6 separate regions of the Homo sapiens genome follow, and regions 1, 2, 4, 5 and 6 are each linked to region 3. Evidence: promoter capture Hi-C in 16 types of primary human blood cells and fetal thymus (Javierre and others, 2016). All regions are on one chromosome and are shown on one strand. The core of a region is centred on a gene start or on the middle of the fragment in contact, and the rest is flanking DNA. Distances in the headings are between cores, read along the strand shown. Region 1 overlaps LINC02942 (long intergenic non-protein coding RNA 2942). Region 2 overlaps LINC02942 (long intergenic non-protein coding RNA 2942). Region 3 holds the start of C4BPA (complement component 4 binding protein alpha). Region 4 overlaps CD55 (CD55 molecule (Cromer blood group)). Region 5 overlaps CD55 (CD55 molecule (Cromer blood group)). Region 6 overlaps LINC02942 (long intergenic non-protein coding RNA 2942).

Evidence for each region. Contacts are between HindIII fragments. The CHiCAGO score rates a contact against its expected background, and 5 or more counts as called.
Region 1: a fragment that was not itself captured here is called in contact with the fragment with the promoter of C4BPA in region 3 in 12 of 17 cell types (monocytes, naive B cells, M1 macrophages and 9 more); the score reaches 9.6 in monocytes.
Region 2: a fragment that was not itself captured here is called in contact with the fragment with the promoter of C4BPA in region 3 in 2 of 17 cell types (monocytes and M2 macrophages); the score reaches 6.2 in monocytes.
Region 4: a fragment that was not itself captured here is called in contact with the fragment with the promoter of C4BPA in region 3 in 7 of 17 cell types (monocytes, M2 macrophages, M1 macrophages and 4 more); the score reaches 8.4 in monocytes.
Region 5: a fragment that was not itself captured here is called in contact with the fragment with the promoter of C4BPA in region 3 in 12 of 17 cell types (naive B cells, neutrophils, monocytes and 9 more); the score reaches 9.7 in naive B cells.
Region 6: a fragment that was not itself captured here is called in contact with the fragment with the promoter of C4BPA in region 3 in 10 of 17 cell types (M2 macrophages, total B cells, erythroblasts and 7 more); the score reaches 8.6 in M2 macrophages.

The regions. Positions count from the first base shown.
Region 1 is chr1:207,304,660-207,307,422 of GRCh38, forward strand. All of the region lies in intron 3 of LINC02942 (long intergenic non-protein coding RNA 2942), which reads left to right. All of the region lies in intron 1 of LOC107985251 (a long non-coding RNA gene), which reads right to left. Among named protein-coding and RNA genes, the nearest start is that of CD55, 16 kb to the right of the region's middle. The HindIII fragment of the contact is 1,740 bases long and covers 426-2,165 here.
Region 2 is chr1:207,265,974-207,268,673 of GRCh38, forward strand. The region is part of intron 2 of LINC02942 (long intergenic non-protein coding RNA 2942); the gene reads left to right. The region is part of intron 1 of LOC107985251 (a long non-coding RNA gene); the gene reads right to left. Among named protein-coding and RNA genes, the nearest start is that of LINC02942, 27 kb to the left of the region's middle. The HindIII fragment of the contact is 2,596 bases long and covers 21-2,616 here.
Region 3 is chr1:207,102,980-207,105,679 of GRCh38, forward strand. It overlaps C4BPA (complement component 4 binding protein alpha), which reads left to right and starts at 1,254. Exons shown (of 12, transcript NM_000715.4): 1 at 1,254-1,451. The HindIII fragment of the contact is 2,080 bases long and covers 1-1,478 here.
Region 4 is chr1:207,323,646-207,326,345 of GRCh38, forward strand. It overlaps CD55 (CD55 molecule (Cromer blood group)), which reads left to right. Exons shown (of 10, transcript NM_000574.5): 3 at 914-1,105; 4 at 1,977-2,076. Among named protein-coding and RNA genes, the nearest start is that of CD55, 3.3 kb to the left of the region's middle. The HindIII fragment of the contact is 4,911 bases long and covers 1-2,700 here.
Region 5 is chr1:207,349,929-207,352,628 of GRCh38, forward strand. All of the region lies in intron 9 of CD55 (CD55 molecule (Cromer blood group)), which reads left to right. Among named protein-coding and RNA genes, the nearest start is that of CD55, 30 kb to the left of the region's middle. The HindIII fragment of the contact is 2,902 bases long and covers 1-2,700 here.
Region 6 is chr1:207,284,571-207,287,270 of GRCh38, forward strand. All of the region lies in intron 2 of LINC02942 (long intergenic non-protein coding RNA 2942), which reads left to right. The region is part of intron 1 of LOC107985251 (a long non-coding RNA gene); the gene reads right to left. Among named protein-coding and RNA genes, the nearest start is that of CD55, 36 kb to the right of the region's middle. The HindIII fragment of the contact is 1,323 bases long and covers 603-1,925 here.

The DNA.
Region 1 (2,763 bases), core at 46-2,545, 200 kb after region 3:
TTGTCTTATTTTCTGCCCTTTGAGTTTATGTTAGTCTTAGGCTCTACATCATTCTTCTCTATGCCTGATAGAATGGTTTGTTTGTACCGCCCTGCAATATATTTAATATTATGATGGGACATATTATGTACCATGCCCAGATCCTATGACTCACAATTAATAGGAAAGATTAAGAGACATTACTCATTCATTTATAGCTAAGTGACGTGTTATTTTATTGTTTTATTTATTTTATTATAAGCCCATAAGATGATGGCTGTTACGTACATAACACCTAGACCAAGATTGCTAATCAAAGGAAAGGGAACTAAACTAAATCTCTGTTCTTGGCAGCGTCACTCATTGTCCATTCATTCATATGTTTATTGACTCTATCTTATATGTCATGCACTGTATTAGTTGAGCGGTAATATGACTCATTCCTAAGCTTTGTCCTTGAGAGGCCATGGTCTAGTGGCAAAAACAATTACAGATATTTGTTAAATGTTATAATAGAATATTGTTCAAGGTGTGTGGGAAGGTTACGGAAGACTTCCTGAAGCTGATAATAGTTAATCTCCATCCTGAAGTAAAATGAGTTAGGCAGGTATATAAATAAATCACATCTTAGGTAAAGGGCAAAGCAGCTGAGGTGGAAAGGCTGGAGCCTAGGCAAGCAATGCACATCACGTTCTGGAAGCAGCATGCAGACTGCCAGTTTGCACCCTCCACACATCATATCTGCTTATCCTGAAATTACACTGGACTTTGTGGATCCTTCGCAGCAGAAAAGGCTTCACTAAGAAACACTGAAACATATTCAGATTTCAGCTGCTAAATTAAAACTACTGACATTTCTCAAAGAATCTGGTTTGTCCATTAAGTGCAAGCTGATATCATCACAGAAATTTTTTATCTTGGGAGCACCTTTTGGAAACTTAGACTCCAGTTACGTATTTGAAATAGCGAAAACCTTTGTCAAACAGCCCTTCAATCCGATGCAAAACCATTAGTGCTTTGTGCGCACATTGGGCAACTGTGATCCTTCAGGATTGGCTGCTCTCGAGAAAGAAAACTCCCTATGGGCCACCACACCCCCTACTTTATCCATGGGGAAGCAGCGGTATCAAATGGCCAATGGTCCTAGTTCCTGGCACAAAGTAGAAGCATGATAAACATTAGTGATTAAACATATTAAACATGGAAAACATAAAATTAGTGATTAAAAATTAGTCTAAATCCATGTCTTACCAGGTGGATTGTTATCTCCAGCAAACCCTGGGCCTTGAATTCACTTTTTGTCAAGGAATTTTATTAAGAAACATGAGTCATATCTGAATATTTTTAAAAATATAAATTACAAGTTAATTGGCTTTGCAAAAGACATATGTTGATGTACTTTGTTGCATTTTAGGTAGCATTTTGGTTAAGAAGAGCCCCCTCTTTAAGCCATTTAAGAGGGAAAAGCTGATTCACAGTTTGCCTTATTTGCTAGGTATTTCTATTCCAGGGGCAAAGAAGATTATTCAACATATACTTCTGTTCTCTATTTTGACATATCCAGTTTTTCCAAAGTTCCTAGCCAGATGCTAAATTCATATAGCTGATAAAGGAGTCTCTGTTCTTAAGATGATAATAGAGAGCATTTCATGAAATGGTTAAGCAGTAACACATATACATAGTATATGTATATATATATATAGTGACTTCTGTTGAAAAAATAAGTGACTATTCGTATTTATTTTCACTCTTTCTCAAAATGCCACTAAAATTACAGTGTCATTTTAACTAAAATTAAAAATAATTTTTTAAAGGCATAAAAACACAAAAGAATAAATGGCAGAGGAGATGCAGAAAGGTGTTTGAATTGTTACCGATTTAGCAGAAAGTAGAAAGCTAAAACCTTCCTGCCTGTAGCCAGTCTGTTTATGCTGCAGAACCCCAGAAAGGCTCAGAAATTGGAGGCACAAAGAACCTTTGGAGATTAGGAATTAAACTGAAAATAGGAGGATCAGTTGAAAGTGTATATAAAGTCGACAGACCTGAAGGACGCTTCTCATATGCAGAGCATTTAGGAGACTATTATCATGCTTTTACTTTCTGCCAGGAACTAGGACCATTGGCCATTTGATACAGCTGCTTCCCTGTGGATAAAGTAGTGGGGTGGGGTGTGGTGACCCGTGGGAAGCTTTCTTTCTCGAGAGCAGCCAATCCTGAAGGATCCCAGTTGCTCAATGTGCGCACAAAGCACTAATGGTTTTGCTTCTAATTGAAGTGCTGTTTGACAAAGAAGGTTTTTGCCATTTCTCCTATCCAGAGAAGAGGCAAGGGGCATTAAATGGAAAAATCAAAATCAGAGTAGTTCTCAACTCTAGGAAAACTGACAGTGAAAGAAGAAGGGTAGGAAAGGCAAACATTGAATGGTGAGACCTGTAACTCCCTGGTGAGACTAAGATCCCAGAATGTTGGTAGCCAGGCTTATACCTCTCTGTTCCATTCCAGGTGAGACTTCAGAGGATTTCTTTTTAGGGAAATGAATGAGACTAAGAGAAAATACTTTTAGATGCTAACATATGGGGTTGTTTCCCACACTGTCAAGTTCCCAACCCAATAACCCTACACTGAAGCCAACCAGGAAACACACACAGTTTACAACTAGCTTGTTGGAGTCTCATTTGTAAATATTGAAGGAAACATTATGGATCATAAGATGCTTGAGGAGGCCTCCAACATGAAATACAGAGAACAAAACTAACAAACACGGACAAAAAGAAACTCGGAAGA
Region 2 (2,700 bases), core at 69-2,568, 160 kb after region 3:
ACCTCTAACTTTAAACTTCAAGCTTTTCCAGGCATAGTTCATTCTACTTCCAGGGCCACCTTGCCACTGGTATAAATTCTCTTTCCACGGCTCAAAATTTATATCAAGATTCTTATTTATTTATATATTTAATGGGTACAACATGGTGCTTGGATGTACATATACACAGTGAAATAACTACTACAGTCAAACAAATGTAAATATTCATCACTTTCCATAGTTACCTATGTGTGCTAAGAGCACCTAAAATCTATTCTGTTAGCAAATTTTCAGTATACAATACAATATTATTAACCATAGTCTCCATACTGTATTTTAGAGCTCTAGACTTATCATCCAATTTAACTGCAAATTTGTACCCTTTGACATACCTCTATTTCCTCCCCCTCCTTACCCCTGGTAACCACTGTTCTACTCTCTGTTTTTATTTAAAACTCCTAGAAGAAAACATGGGAAGAGCTCTTTGATACTGGTCTTGGAAATGACTTTTGGCCATCACCCCAAAAGCACAGTGACAAAAGCAAAAATAAACAAGTAGGATTACATCAAACTAAAAAGATTCTGCATAGCGAAAGAAATAACAAAATGAAAAGGCAGCCTGCAGACAGGGAGAAAATATTTGCAAACCATATATCTAACAAAGGGTTAATATCCAAACATATAAGGGACTCACACACCTCAATAGCAAAAAACCCTCAATAATTCAATTTAAAAATGGGCAAAGGAATGAAGTAGACATTTTTCCAAAGAGGGCATATGAATGGCCAACAGTTATATGAAAAGGTACTCAGTATCACTAGTCTTCAGGGAACTGCAAATCAAAACCACAATGAGATTATCACTTCACCCCTGTTAGGATGGCCATTATAAAAAAGTCAAGGAATAAGTGTTGGAGAGAATATGGAGAACAGAGAACCCTTAGACACTATTGGTGTGAATGTAAATTGGTATAGCCGTTATGAAAAAAAACATAGATTTTCCTCAAAAAATTAAAACTAGAACTACTATATGACCAGGCAATCCCTATGCTGGGTATATATACCCAAACAAAAGGAAATCAGCACTTTGTAGAAATATCAGTGCTTCCACATTCACTGCAGCATTATTTATGATGGACAAGAAATGGAATCAACTTATGTGCCCATTAATGGATGAATGGATAGAGTAAATGTGATATATATACACAATGGTATATTATTCGGGCTTCAAAAAGAGGGAGGTCCTGCCATTTGTAACAACACGGAGAACCTGGTAGACATTATGCTAACTGAAATAAGGCAGGCAAAGAAAGACAAATACTGCATGATCTTACTTATATGTGGCATCTAAAAAACTCAAGATTCCCTTTAAAAGTCCTCTTCAATGCTCCCCACATCTGTGTTGACTGAAAATGTATCAAGTTGATCCTGAAATAACTCCTTCACTGCTTCCCAATGTGCAGGCAATAAAAATTAGGTATCAACTCACCTGCACGGTGTTTTTTCTATATCATCTTTATCCTCTCACTCACAACACACCCATTTTATAAAGTATTGTTTTCATCCTTGACACCACACCAAACCAATGAACACTGCCAAAAACTTCAGCTTCTTGTAAATATGTGATAGATCTTTCTGGAAGATCTTCAGAGCATTTTCTAAAAGGTGAAAGAATGGGATACAATACATGTTCCTTCAGTTCCTAAGACCCTGAAGAGAAGGAACCAAGTCAGAAAACTCATGGGCTCACCTGCAGATGCATATGCATATGCAAAATGCAACTCTGGTGAGTCCAAAATAGTCCACTCAATGGCTTCTGTTCATGCAGCACCCCGAGCCACAGGCTGAAACCAGGGTGAGGCAAGTGAGGTACTCACCTTGAGCATAAAATGTAAGGGGGACATCAACAACTTGGTAACCAACATAAATAATATTTTAGTGTAATATTTTGAAAAATCAAAATTATTGCCCCCCAAATCATGATGAACAGTTCATGAAGGAATTGATGAAACTAATAAATAGAATTAGACATAAATAAACATGAATTAATAACCAATTCAGTAACCAATTTACGGGGATTAATGATTCTAAATTGTAAATTGCGGGTTGTAGGATAGGAAATGAGGACTGAAAAGAAAAAAAACACTAGGATTTCAAGCCTGCCTGAAAATAACATCATTATCGAGAGAATGGCCATCCAGTTTGGGAGTAAATTGACAGTTCAGTTCCAGACCTATAATGAAAAATAAAAGTAGCACTTAGAGAATTTTATATTGAAAGGAAGAAGAAAAACAGGATGTAATATGAGGGGGCACCAACTACCAGCAAAATCGATTTCATGTTATAGAGTGTTTTAAAGTCAATTAGTGATGATAGGTTATAATGGAGGGATGAAACACCCAAAGGAAGACAAAGAGAAAGGAAATAAGAGAGGTATTGTCACATAGTCACAGACAAAGAAATAATAGGAGGAAGAAATATGGGTGGGGTTGCACTGAATGCACTCCACTTTCGCCAAGTAGGAGGGTAATAATCCAAGGGTGGATGCAGTGAGAAGGGCAGGGTCATAGCTTGAGTACAGCAAGAAATCATGACCCAGCCCTGTGGAATAAACAGAGGAATCATAAAAAAATGCATAAGCTTTTTGGAATAAACAGAGGACTCCTGAAAATTGCATAAGTCTTGGAAAGTAGATGAACTGCAAGAAAAAAAAGATGAAGAA
Region 3 (2,700 bases), core at 4-2,503:
AGGTATTGGCAAAATTGAAGGGACATTTCAGGATGAGAGATGCATTGAAAATGAGGCAGGAAAAGAAGAAACAATTCTCCTCGGAATGAGGAGTGAATAGGAGGGAAAATTTGACATTGATGAAGCTAAGGTAGAATGATTTTTAGTAAAGTAGGAGGTAAGAGCATCTGCTGAGAGGGAATGTGACAATTTGGTGACCTGGAGAGAAAAATCTGCAAGAGTCACTGTGGAAAGTAAACGAAAGGACTTCAATACATTGGAAAACGGTACTTTAAAGAAATAGCAGCTTTAAAGGTGATATTTCTTCCAATTTAGTCTCAAGACTGTGCAATCTGGAATCCTCCTCTATCTTCATTCTGGTCAAATCAGTGTCTCACCTTGGTGACCTAGCGCATGGTTTCTTTACATCTAATATCCTTACCACTTTTATCTAATAATTTCTACCTTTTATCCAAATCTCACATCTTCTGTAGAAACTTCCTTGATTAACTCAACCTGTTGTAGTTTAGTTCCTTTTCTGAAACTCTTCTGGGACTTTCAGTATTTATTACAGAAAAAGTGAAGTTCTCAGAAAGAATTGCCTTTTAATAGCAATCTTCTGAGCACACAAATCTTAACCTTGAGGATTAGTAGCTTAATTGGACTATGTAAGTGCTTGTGGTCTTTTTAGATCTATGCGAGAGGAAACATGGCCGGTCCTTCATTGCGTTCTTCTGAGCGCACTGGATAGATCAATTTTTGGAGGCCCTCTGGTGCCTGACATGTAGTAGCAGTTAACATTTGCTGAACTCCAAATACGTTCTAGATAACTCAGCACATAGTGGAAACCCAATGCATGTTTGATAAATTCCCCACCTTTTGTAATTCCTTGGGGTGGGATAGAGACGAGCTCTGGGCAAGAATATCAGTTTTCAAACTCCAGGAAAGCATACTGGACCTAGTGTCATGGAAAGTGGATCATTTTTGCGGAGGCTCTCTGAACCTCGCAGTATCCAAGGTTTCCAGGCTAGCTGGACTGTGTCTTGCCATAACCCTTATGTGTTTATGAAAAGAAAAAAGAATTCTGGCTTCAAATTCAAATTACCTTTCCACTTAGGGGAAATGGTTGGCAGAGGAGAAAATAAACGATTGCGACATGTTACGAAGAATGAGGACTAGCAAAGAGGAAGGAGCTTAGGTAAACAGTGCTGCTTTATTTCTGCTGTTAATCATTCATTGGGCCCGTCAAAAGTTTCTGCCCATCTATTTCCATCAACCGTCCTTGACCAGCCAACCACATGGCTGAAATTCAGGGACTCTTTGGTGGAGCAATTACCAGTCAACTTCAGGGTATTATGATAAACTCTGATCTGGGGAGGAACCAGGACTACATAGATCAAGGCAGTTTTCTTCTTTGAGAAACTATCCCAGATATCATCATAGAGTCTTCTGCTCTTCCTCAACTACCAAAGGTCGGTGGACTACTAAACCCTTGGGGAAGCTTGGAGGAAAGGCTGGTGGTTTGGCCCTTTAAGGAGTGCAGGATTAGAAGGATAAAACAGAGACAAAAGCTTGGAGGTGTTTTCAGCAGAAATCTTTTCAGGAGCACTGTATTAGGGGGATGTAAGACTTGAGACGTACTTTAAACCCTATCTGAACCTCAAGTTTTAAAAATTATAAATGGAGGAATAATATTGCATTCTAATAAAATAAGCTAAAGAAGAAGAGGTGTAAGGTGTTGCTCTTGTTACTGTATCTAAAAGACAGATGTGTTGGTTTGTTGATCTTTCACCACCTTCCCACATCAGAGTTGAGGCAAGGGGTCAATCAGACTTTTCAAAGGGTTCACAGGAAGCTTGCTTTTCTTAGTCTACATTCTGAAAACTGGGGCCATTTCTATTTTGAGATTTGATTAACCACTCCAAATCTCCTCCACCACTGACAGCAAAGATGTTTAGATTTGGTAATAAGGAGGACACTGGCCAGCCTCCAGTTGGTTTCTGAAGCTAGCAGTCTTAGTCGTCCTCATCTTCTTTACTTTCTGAATTTGACGATGCTGATAACCCTTCCTTCTTGAAATTCTCTTCTTCCTTGGTTGGCCAGGATACAGTACCATTCTGGTCCTCATTTTAATTCTTCAACCACTTGTCTCTTTGCTGATTCCTATTCTATCTCTAAATATGGTAACACCAAAAGAATAAAAAGTAGACTACAGAAGAGGCAGAAGCATCAAAGAAGGTTGGCATTAAGCTTAGAGATATGTTTGAATGTAGTATGAGCACAGAATAAAGGGGCTGATAGAAAAATAAAGAGATTTGGCCAGGTACGGTGGCTCACTCCTGTAATCCCAGCACTTTGGGAGGCCGAGGCTGGCGGATCACCTGAGGTCGGGAGTTCGAGACCAGCCTGACCAACATGGAGAACCCCTGTCTCTACTAAAATTACAAAATTAGCCAGGCATGGTGGCACATGTCTGTAATCCCAGCTACTTGGGAGGCTGAGGCAGGAGGATCATTTGAACCAGGGAGGCAGAGGTTGGGGTGAGCTGAGATCGTGCCATTGCACTCTAGTCTGGGCAACAAGAGTGAAACTCCACCTCAAAAAAAAAAAAAAAAGAAAAAAAAAAGAGATTCTAGGAAGGGTGGGGAAAGTGTGGGAGCCAGTTCTTTCTGGAGTTTGTAAGTGATATAATTGAGAGCCCAGGTATAAGGAAGAAGACAC
Region 4 (2,700 bases), core at 43-2,542, 220 kb after region 3:
GAAGCTACTGTAAATACAGAAATTGGCACAAATACCTTTAGAAGCCATGCGTGAAATAGGCTTTAACTTTTTATTTTTATCCACAATAGAGGCAGTAGGATGAAGTACATAGTCTTTGCACATGTATCATGTTTTAACTCTTCCCCATGTTATTACTTTATCCAATCCTCCAAACAACCTTATGAGGTAAGTTGGGGCTCTTACACTCTTTTTATGGCGGAGGAGACAGACCCCAGTAGTTTAATAACTTCCTCAAGAGCAGCAGCTTTTACGCCAAAACCAAGGTGTAAACTTGGGTCTTCTGACTACAAATCCAATGATGACCCTTCCACTTGACCATGCCTCTCTAGATTCACATTTGTGGGCAATCTGTTTACAGATGTAAATACTTTATGTATACAATTTGTGGGCAATCTGTTTACAGGTGTAAATACTTTATGTATACAATTGACTCATCCTTGCCCCCAGGGCTCATGGGAATTAAATGAGTTTGTACGTAAATAAATATTAGCTGCTATTATTGTTGTGCAGGACATTAGTCCAGGGGTCTGGAAATACCCTATTCCTGTACTGTATGGTGCTGTGTAGTTCTTTAGGGCAGGGTAAGGAAACCAACATTTATTGAATGCCAGAACTGGGCCAGGCAACTTAAATTTTTTTTTTTTTTTAAGTGGGGATAGTGATATGTGTGTACCAACTCTACTTCCTAAGCCTCTAGTAACTAGGAAACAAAGTATACATGTGAATACATTTGCTACATTGCAAGTGCCATGGTGATATTAATATAGTTAAGTACTAAATATGCGCAAAGCAGTAAAGAAAGGGGGTTATTAGGGTCCAGATAATTAAATATAGATTATAAAACAAAAATTGATACTACATTTTTTGTTGCTGCTTTTGTTAATACTTTTAGGTAGCTGCGAGGTGCCAACAAGGCTAAATTCTGCATCCCTCAAACAGCCTTATATCACTCAGAATTATTTTCCAGTCGGTACTGTTGTGGAATATGAGTGCCGTCCAGGTTACAGAAGAGAACCTTCTCTATCACCAAAACTAACTTGCCTTCAGAATTTAAAATGGTCCACAGCAGTCGAATTTTGTAAAAGTGAGTAAAATTTTTTAAAGTATTTTCAACCATCTGGTGTTTGGGGGAAATAGTATCCCTTCCTTCATTCATGCTAGAACTCTATGTGTATATATTATTATATAGGATGTTTCTTGATAGGACCATGAGTGTCAATTTATTTTGAATTAGACTAAATATTTATGTGGTAGGAATACTTATTCATTCAAAAATTTCACATTTAATTAGTTTGAGGTTACCTAAAATAAAACAAGTATATATTCTAAATTCGTTGCTTTTTCAAAACTTATTATAAAGAGAAATTAGAATTAAAGAAGTCTAAGGGTCAGGCATGGTGGCTCATACCTGTAATCCCAGCACTTTGGGAGACAGAGGCAGGTGGACCACTTGAGGTCAGGAGATTGAGAGTAGCCTGGCCAACATGATGAAACCCTGACTCTACTAAAAATACAAAAACTAGCTGGGTGTGGTGGCGCATGCCTGTAATCCCAGCTTCTTGGAAGGCTGAGGCAGGAGAATCCCTTGAACCTGGGAGGCAGAGGTTGCAGTGAGCTGAGATTATGTCACCGCGCTCCAGCCTGGGCAACAGAGCAAAACTCCATCTCAAAAAAAAAAAAAAAAAAGTCTAAGGATAAGAAATATCAATGGTTCAGATGATGAATTTACATATATGTGCTTGATAATTTTTTCAAAATTTTTACCTGAGCTTTATTGAGGTATAATCGACAAATATTATCTTAGGTGTACAACATGATGTTTTGATATATGTGCACATTGTGAAATGATTAACACAGTCAAGCTAATTAACATATCTACCACCTCACATAGTTACCTTCTTTGTGTGTATGCCTGATAATTTAATTTTAAAAAATCAATTTGTATTCTATTCTAGAGAAATCATGCCCTAATCCGGGAGAAATACGAAATGGTCAGATTGATGTACCAGGTGGCATATTATTTGGTGCAACCATCTCCTTCTCATGTAACACAGGGTAAGTTTGGGCATACTAAAACCCTGTATTTAGGAAATGAGAAAACAAATTAGGACTTAAGGTGAGATTGTTAGTTTCATGACTGGTATTCACAGCTAGTAGCAATTAAAACAATCCCTCTCCTCAAAGACCCTTCATCATGAGCTCATCACAGTTAAATTTAGTAAAATGGGGGCAAGAAAGGAAGATTTCTTAAACCACCAGAATTCTCTAAATTCTGATTTCAGTAAATATGTGATTCAATATAAAATTTTAAATGTGATTAATAAAAAAATTTGAGATGATGATACTTGCAGAAATCTTCAAATGTTAAATACTAAACCAATCTTTAGTTGACCTAAATAATGAATTTGCATGAGTTTTTCTATATGCAAACAAGCTGTTACAAAACAGCATGAGTTAAAGACATTCCTAGTGTGAAAGTATTCTAAGTTCTTTGATAAGTTCTCTGTATAGGGAGAAGGAACTCATTCATTGAGTACCATCAATGTCTCAGACACTGTTGAAAACTTTACATTTATTTTCTCATTTCATATCTGTAAATTAAATAATTCTATTTTACTCTGTGTGTGTCCCTATTCTTTATAAAGTAAAAATATCAGTATCACTTGTCTCCTATACGAA
Region 5 (2,700 bases), core at 30-2,529, 250 kb after region 3:
CTTGTACTGGTTTTCAAGGTGAATGCTTCCAGCTTTTGCTCATTCAGTATGATGTTGGCTGTGGGTTTTTCCTGGCGGCTCTTATTATTTTGTGGTATGTTCCTTTGATGCCTAGTTTGTTGATGACTTTTAACATGAAGGGATGTTGAATGTTGTCAAAAGCCTTTTCTACAACAATTGAGATGATCATGTGGTTTTTTTGTTTGTAGTTCTGTTTATGTGATGAATCACATTTATTGATTTGGATATGTTGAGCCAACCTTGCATCCCAGGAATAAAGCCTACTTGATCGTGGTAAGTTAGGTATTTGATGTGCTGCTGGATTTGATCTGCTAGTATTTTGTTGAGGATTTTTGCATTTACTTTCATCAGGGATGTTGGCCTGAAGTTTTCTTTTTTTGTCCTGTCTCTTTGCCAGATTTTGGTATCAGTGTGATGCTGGCCTTATAGAATGAGGAGTCCCTCCTCCTTGATTTTTGGCATAGTTTCAGTATGATTGGTACCGGCTCTTGTTTGTATGTTTGGTGGAATTTGTCTGTGAATCCATCTGGTACAGGGCTCTTTCTGGTTGGTAGGTTTTTTAAATTACTGATTCAATTTAAGAACTTGTTATTGGTCTGTTCAGGTATTTAATTTCTTCCTGGTTCAATCTTAGGAGGTTGTATTTTTCCAAGAATTTACCATTTCTTCTACGTTTTCTAGTTTATGTACATAGAGGTGTTCAAAATAGTCTCTGAGGGTGTTTTGTATTTCTGTGGGGTTGGTGGTAATGTCCCCTTTGTCATCTGAGATTGTGTTTATTTGGATGTTCTCTCTCTTTATTAATCTAGCTAGTTGTCTATCAATCTTATTTATTCTTTCAAAAAACCAGCTTTGGTTTTGTTGATCTTTTGTATGGATTTTTGCATCTCAATTTTATTCAGTTCAGCTCTGATTTTGGTTATTTTTTTTCTTCTGCTAGCTTTTGGGTTGGTTTGCTCTTGTTTTTTCTACATCCTCTAGAGGTGATGTTACTTTGTTAATTTGAGATTTTTCTAACATTTTGATGTAGGTGTTTAATGCTACAAACTTTCCTCTTGACATTGTTCTGGCTGTGTCCCAGACACTCTGGTATGTTGTATCTTTGTTTTCACTAGTTTCAAAGAATTTCTTGATTTCTGCCTTAATTTTCAGAATGCCAAAAGTCATTCAGGATTAGGTTGTTTAATTTCCATGTTATTGTATAGTTTTAAGAGATCTTCCTGGTATTGATTTATATTTTATGCTGTGGCCTAAGAGTATGGTTAGTATGATTTTGGTTTTTTGAATTTGTTTAAAATTGCTTTATGGTTGAGCATGTGGTCAATCTTAGAGTATGTGCTATGTGCAGATGAGAAGAATGTATATCCTGTTGTTCTTGGGTGTAATGTTATGTAGATGTCTGTTAAGTCCATTTGGTCAAGTGTCAAGTTTAGGTCATGAATATCTTTGTTAGTTTTCTGCCTTGATTATGTGTCTAACATTGTCAATGGGGTGTTGAAGTCTCCCACTATATTGTGTGGTTATTTCCATCTCTTCATAGGTCTTTAAGAACTTGTCTTATGAATCTGGATGATCCAGTGTTGGATCTGAAAAGAGTAATAAAAACATTATCATTACTATCATTATTATTTATTGTGGTTATTTTATATTTTGAATGAACTTCTAAGCTAAAAGATTTATCTTGAAAGATTCCAACTGTTGGAATTCACTTTGTTTTAAATAGAAATAAATGTGTTTCAAATGAAAGTCTGATGATTTAATGATCACAAAAGTGATGAGTTTAATAAATGAGTTTTTTCTCACCTGCTCAATGGCACTCAATGAAGGTTTGAAATGCCTTTTTTTCCTGAAATTCTTTAAGTATTATACCCTTTGATTTTCTAGAAAACTTTCCTTAGTCGGCATTCCAGCTTGTGTTAAAAAATAAAGAGGAAGTCCTTCCTTCTTAAACTGGACATATGGCAACATTTTTTGTGTGTGATTTCATATTTGTAGGACATAAACCTGAAAATTATATTCATTAAATTTATTATGTGAATGAGGTTACTCTTCTTTAAAGATAAATTAACTCTACTGCAAGAAAATTGTTTCATCAATTACACTGCAATGTAAGTAAAATGATACAGATGATCTTTGAATTTTGGAAGTATTTGATTTTTTTTTCCTATTCTGCTAAGGAAGAAAGACTGACTAATGTTACAGAACTTTCTAATTTGCCTTGTAAATGAAGCATGTGTTGTGAATTTTAAATCTTTTCTTCCGTTGGCTTTGTATAAGTGTTTCCCAATTTTTTTTTGTGGGGGGTGGGGGGTGCGTTAATTCTTGCTCTCTTCTCACCAAAGACCTTTTTAGACATTTTTTTTTGATCATCCTCCACCACACATATACTGTAAATCAGTTTATGTATCACATATATATCTGCACTCTGTACTTAAAAAAGGAAAATTTTTTTTTAACTTTCATCAGGTATCACCCCCATTGAGAATGCTTGCTTTCTGTTGGTTTTGTTTTTATTGTTTTTAAAGACAAAATCATATAGAAGAAAGAGCTTAACCTCTGGAGTCAAACCAGTCGGATGTTGGTTTGAATCCTGTTTTTTTCACTTAGTAATTATTCAACCCAAGTGATTAAGTGATTAACTTAATCTCTCTGAGACTCAGTTTTCTCATTTAAGAGATA
Region 6 (2,700 bases), core at 14-2,513, 180 kb after region 3:
ATCATCACAGTCTCAGGACTAAGATTCAATGCTGACCTTTAGCTGTTTTCATTGCAGGATATTAGCTCACCAGACAGCTGGGTGAGATAACCTCTCTTTTAAAATAAAGCAACCCTAAGGGATTGGAGCAGCAATAATTACCCTCTTATTTCTGCAAGAAACATTTATTACATTTGAAGCTGGCCTCATGATAGTCAGTATTTGCTTGAAAAACAGATGTGTTAGTTCCATCTGGACTGGGCTAATGCTTGAATCTTGTCATTAACAATGTATTTGTGTTCGTCATTCCTCGTTTTCTGCATATTTTTAAGGAATTTTTCCTAATAAGGGAAAAGTTATCGAGCCACATTTGCTTGTAGCAGATTTTTTTAAGAGTCAAGAATAACAATAAAGAACTGGACAATTTATGTTGGAGAAAGCAATGGAATTGTTAGTGGGAATAGGAGAGTGACTATGTGAGTACATTTAGGACAAACATTACCTACAGCCAATATGCCTAGAATTGGCCATAATTGGTTTTTGTGACCAAATTTCTTTTCATTTTGCAAATGGGAATGGCCTTTAAGGTTGAAATCAGAGTGCCACAGGAATATTACTTAACAAGCTTTTAACCCCAACTTTTAGCAAAATTTATATAACTAGCACATTATGTGTTTTACTTAGCTTTCAATGTCACTGCAGTTGGAAAATAAGTTTTGCCTTCTTTCTTCCATGGCCTGCTCTTCCCCAAACAATGCCTGTTTGATTTTTACTGAAGTCAGTCTTGTGAAGATTAATAGCCAGAATCACAAAAACAGTTTGCTAGTTGGGCTCTAGAGTCCAAAATGTTGAGGGAATCAATTTCGTCTGATGGGACTACCAGAAGAGAAGAGAGGAAGAATTGTTCATTAATTAAGCAAGTATTTAATGAGAGTGTAATATGGGCTTATTGAAGCAGATGTCACTAGAACATAAAGGGAAGGCTAAAACAAGGCCTCCATCCTTTCACAAGTCAAATCTACTTGAGGAGATGAGATATCAATATCAGAATAACTAAGTGGAAGCAGAGAGTATTTTGGTTGAATGTCAGTGCAATGTATAGGAATTTGGGGTCAAGAAAGACCATGAATTTCCTTCCATGGCTGGAAGGATTTGTAGAGGAGGTAAGACTTTACCCTTAAACTTTACACTTAATAATTTCTTCTTTCCCTTGAGTTTGCCTAAGAATTTTGAATAATTTTTCAAGACCCCTATTAGTCTAACTAAGGACAGAAAAAAATCAACATGGCAGGCCTGCGCGTCAATGAGATTTCTGAAAAAAGATTAGCCGTCACTGACATGATTATTTTACATTTGCTGAACCCTGTTGATACTCAAACCTCAGGAGAAAAGGTTGTTGTCTTCTGTAGGGTATCCAGAACCAAGCAAAAGTCTGCCTTTGTGACTCTGGGAGTATCATTATATACAGCTGATGCTTTTCCATTTCAGTTTCATCCAGTTATGCCTAGAGCCCAGCCAAAGGCATTTTAGGATACCCGGCAGTCTCTTTCCATAGTAGGGAATTAAGATCAGATACTTCTTTTCATTCTTCACAGGAGCCTGTTTCCATGTGAAACTGGGCAGAGTTGAGCCTGCCAAAAGGCATGCTCTCTGGATGTTGAAGAGAAATTTGCAGAAAAAGGAACGTATCAACTCCACAAGATTTCAAAATACGGTGGGCACAGGGAATGGAAATTCTAAGGATGTAGAGGATTAAATATATATGAAAAAAAAAAAAAAAACCAGAACAAGGACTTGTCCTGCAGAGGGAATGCCCATGAATTCTCTCATACTCATAGAACAATGAGTGCTGTGTGGAAGGTAACGGTCTCAGTGGTATCTTAGTTCTTAGCTGCGCACCTGCCTTTCATCTTCCTGTGTGGCTTTCTCTCTAGTTCCAGTAAGGAAGCTTTCTAGAGGTTTGAGTTGTTCAGATGTGTGTAATACACAACCTGCATGGTACACTTTATAAGCACTTTTCCTGAAGCAGCAGGTAGCTCTTGTGTCCCTCTTTCCCCCTTCACTAGCAAATCCTATTTCTTTCCTGCAATATTGTTGGCAAGACCCAGAGAGAGGAGTTTGTCAGGAACTCATCGGGTTTAGCACTGACCAAGCCACTATGAGATGCCTAGTTTAAGGGGCATGGCTGTTTTGGCCAGAATATGCCCTCTCCAGAGCTTCCCACTTTTAGTATTTGCAGTAAGGGATTTCTCAGGCAGTCAGTAAGTTGTTTCCAGTTATGAGAAAATATTAACTGCATCAGTGAAATGAAAAGATGTGGCACTTGGTCAGTAATTTCTTTGTGGCTCAGAATCAACAGTCATCACATTCTCAGCTTTCCATTTCTGGCAGTAAGAATGCAAAGTCTAAAACACAGCTCTGTAAAGTATTTCCATAGACATAACATGGGTGTGTGTCTCTCTCTTCAGATTCCCTCCTACAGAGTGCTCATTTCTTGTTACTTATCCTCTTTTGGATTTTAGCGTATTTGTTTTAAAGGATTGCAAATGAAAACCAACCCCTCCCCATGAATTCACCATAAAAGTCACAGACTTTTTTTAATGGAAAAGATGTTTTTCCTGCAGATTTTCATCTGGTTCACACATTTAAAAAGACTTGCTCAGCATAATTGTCTTTGGGTGGGCTGGTCACATTCAGGGATTCTACAAGTGAAAGGAGGAT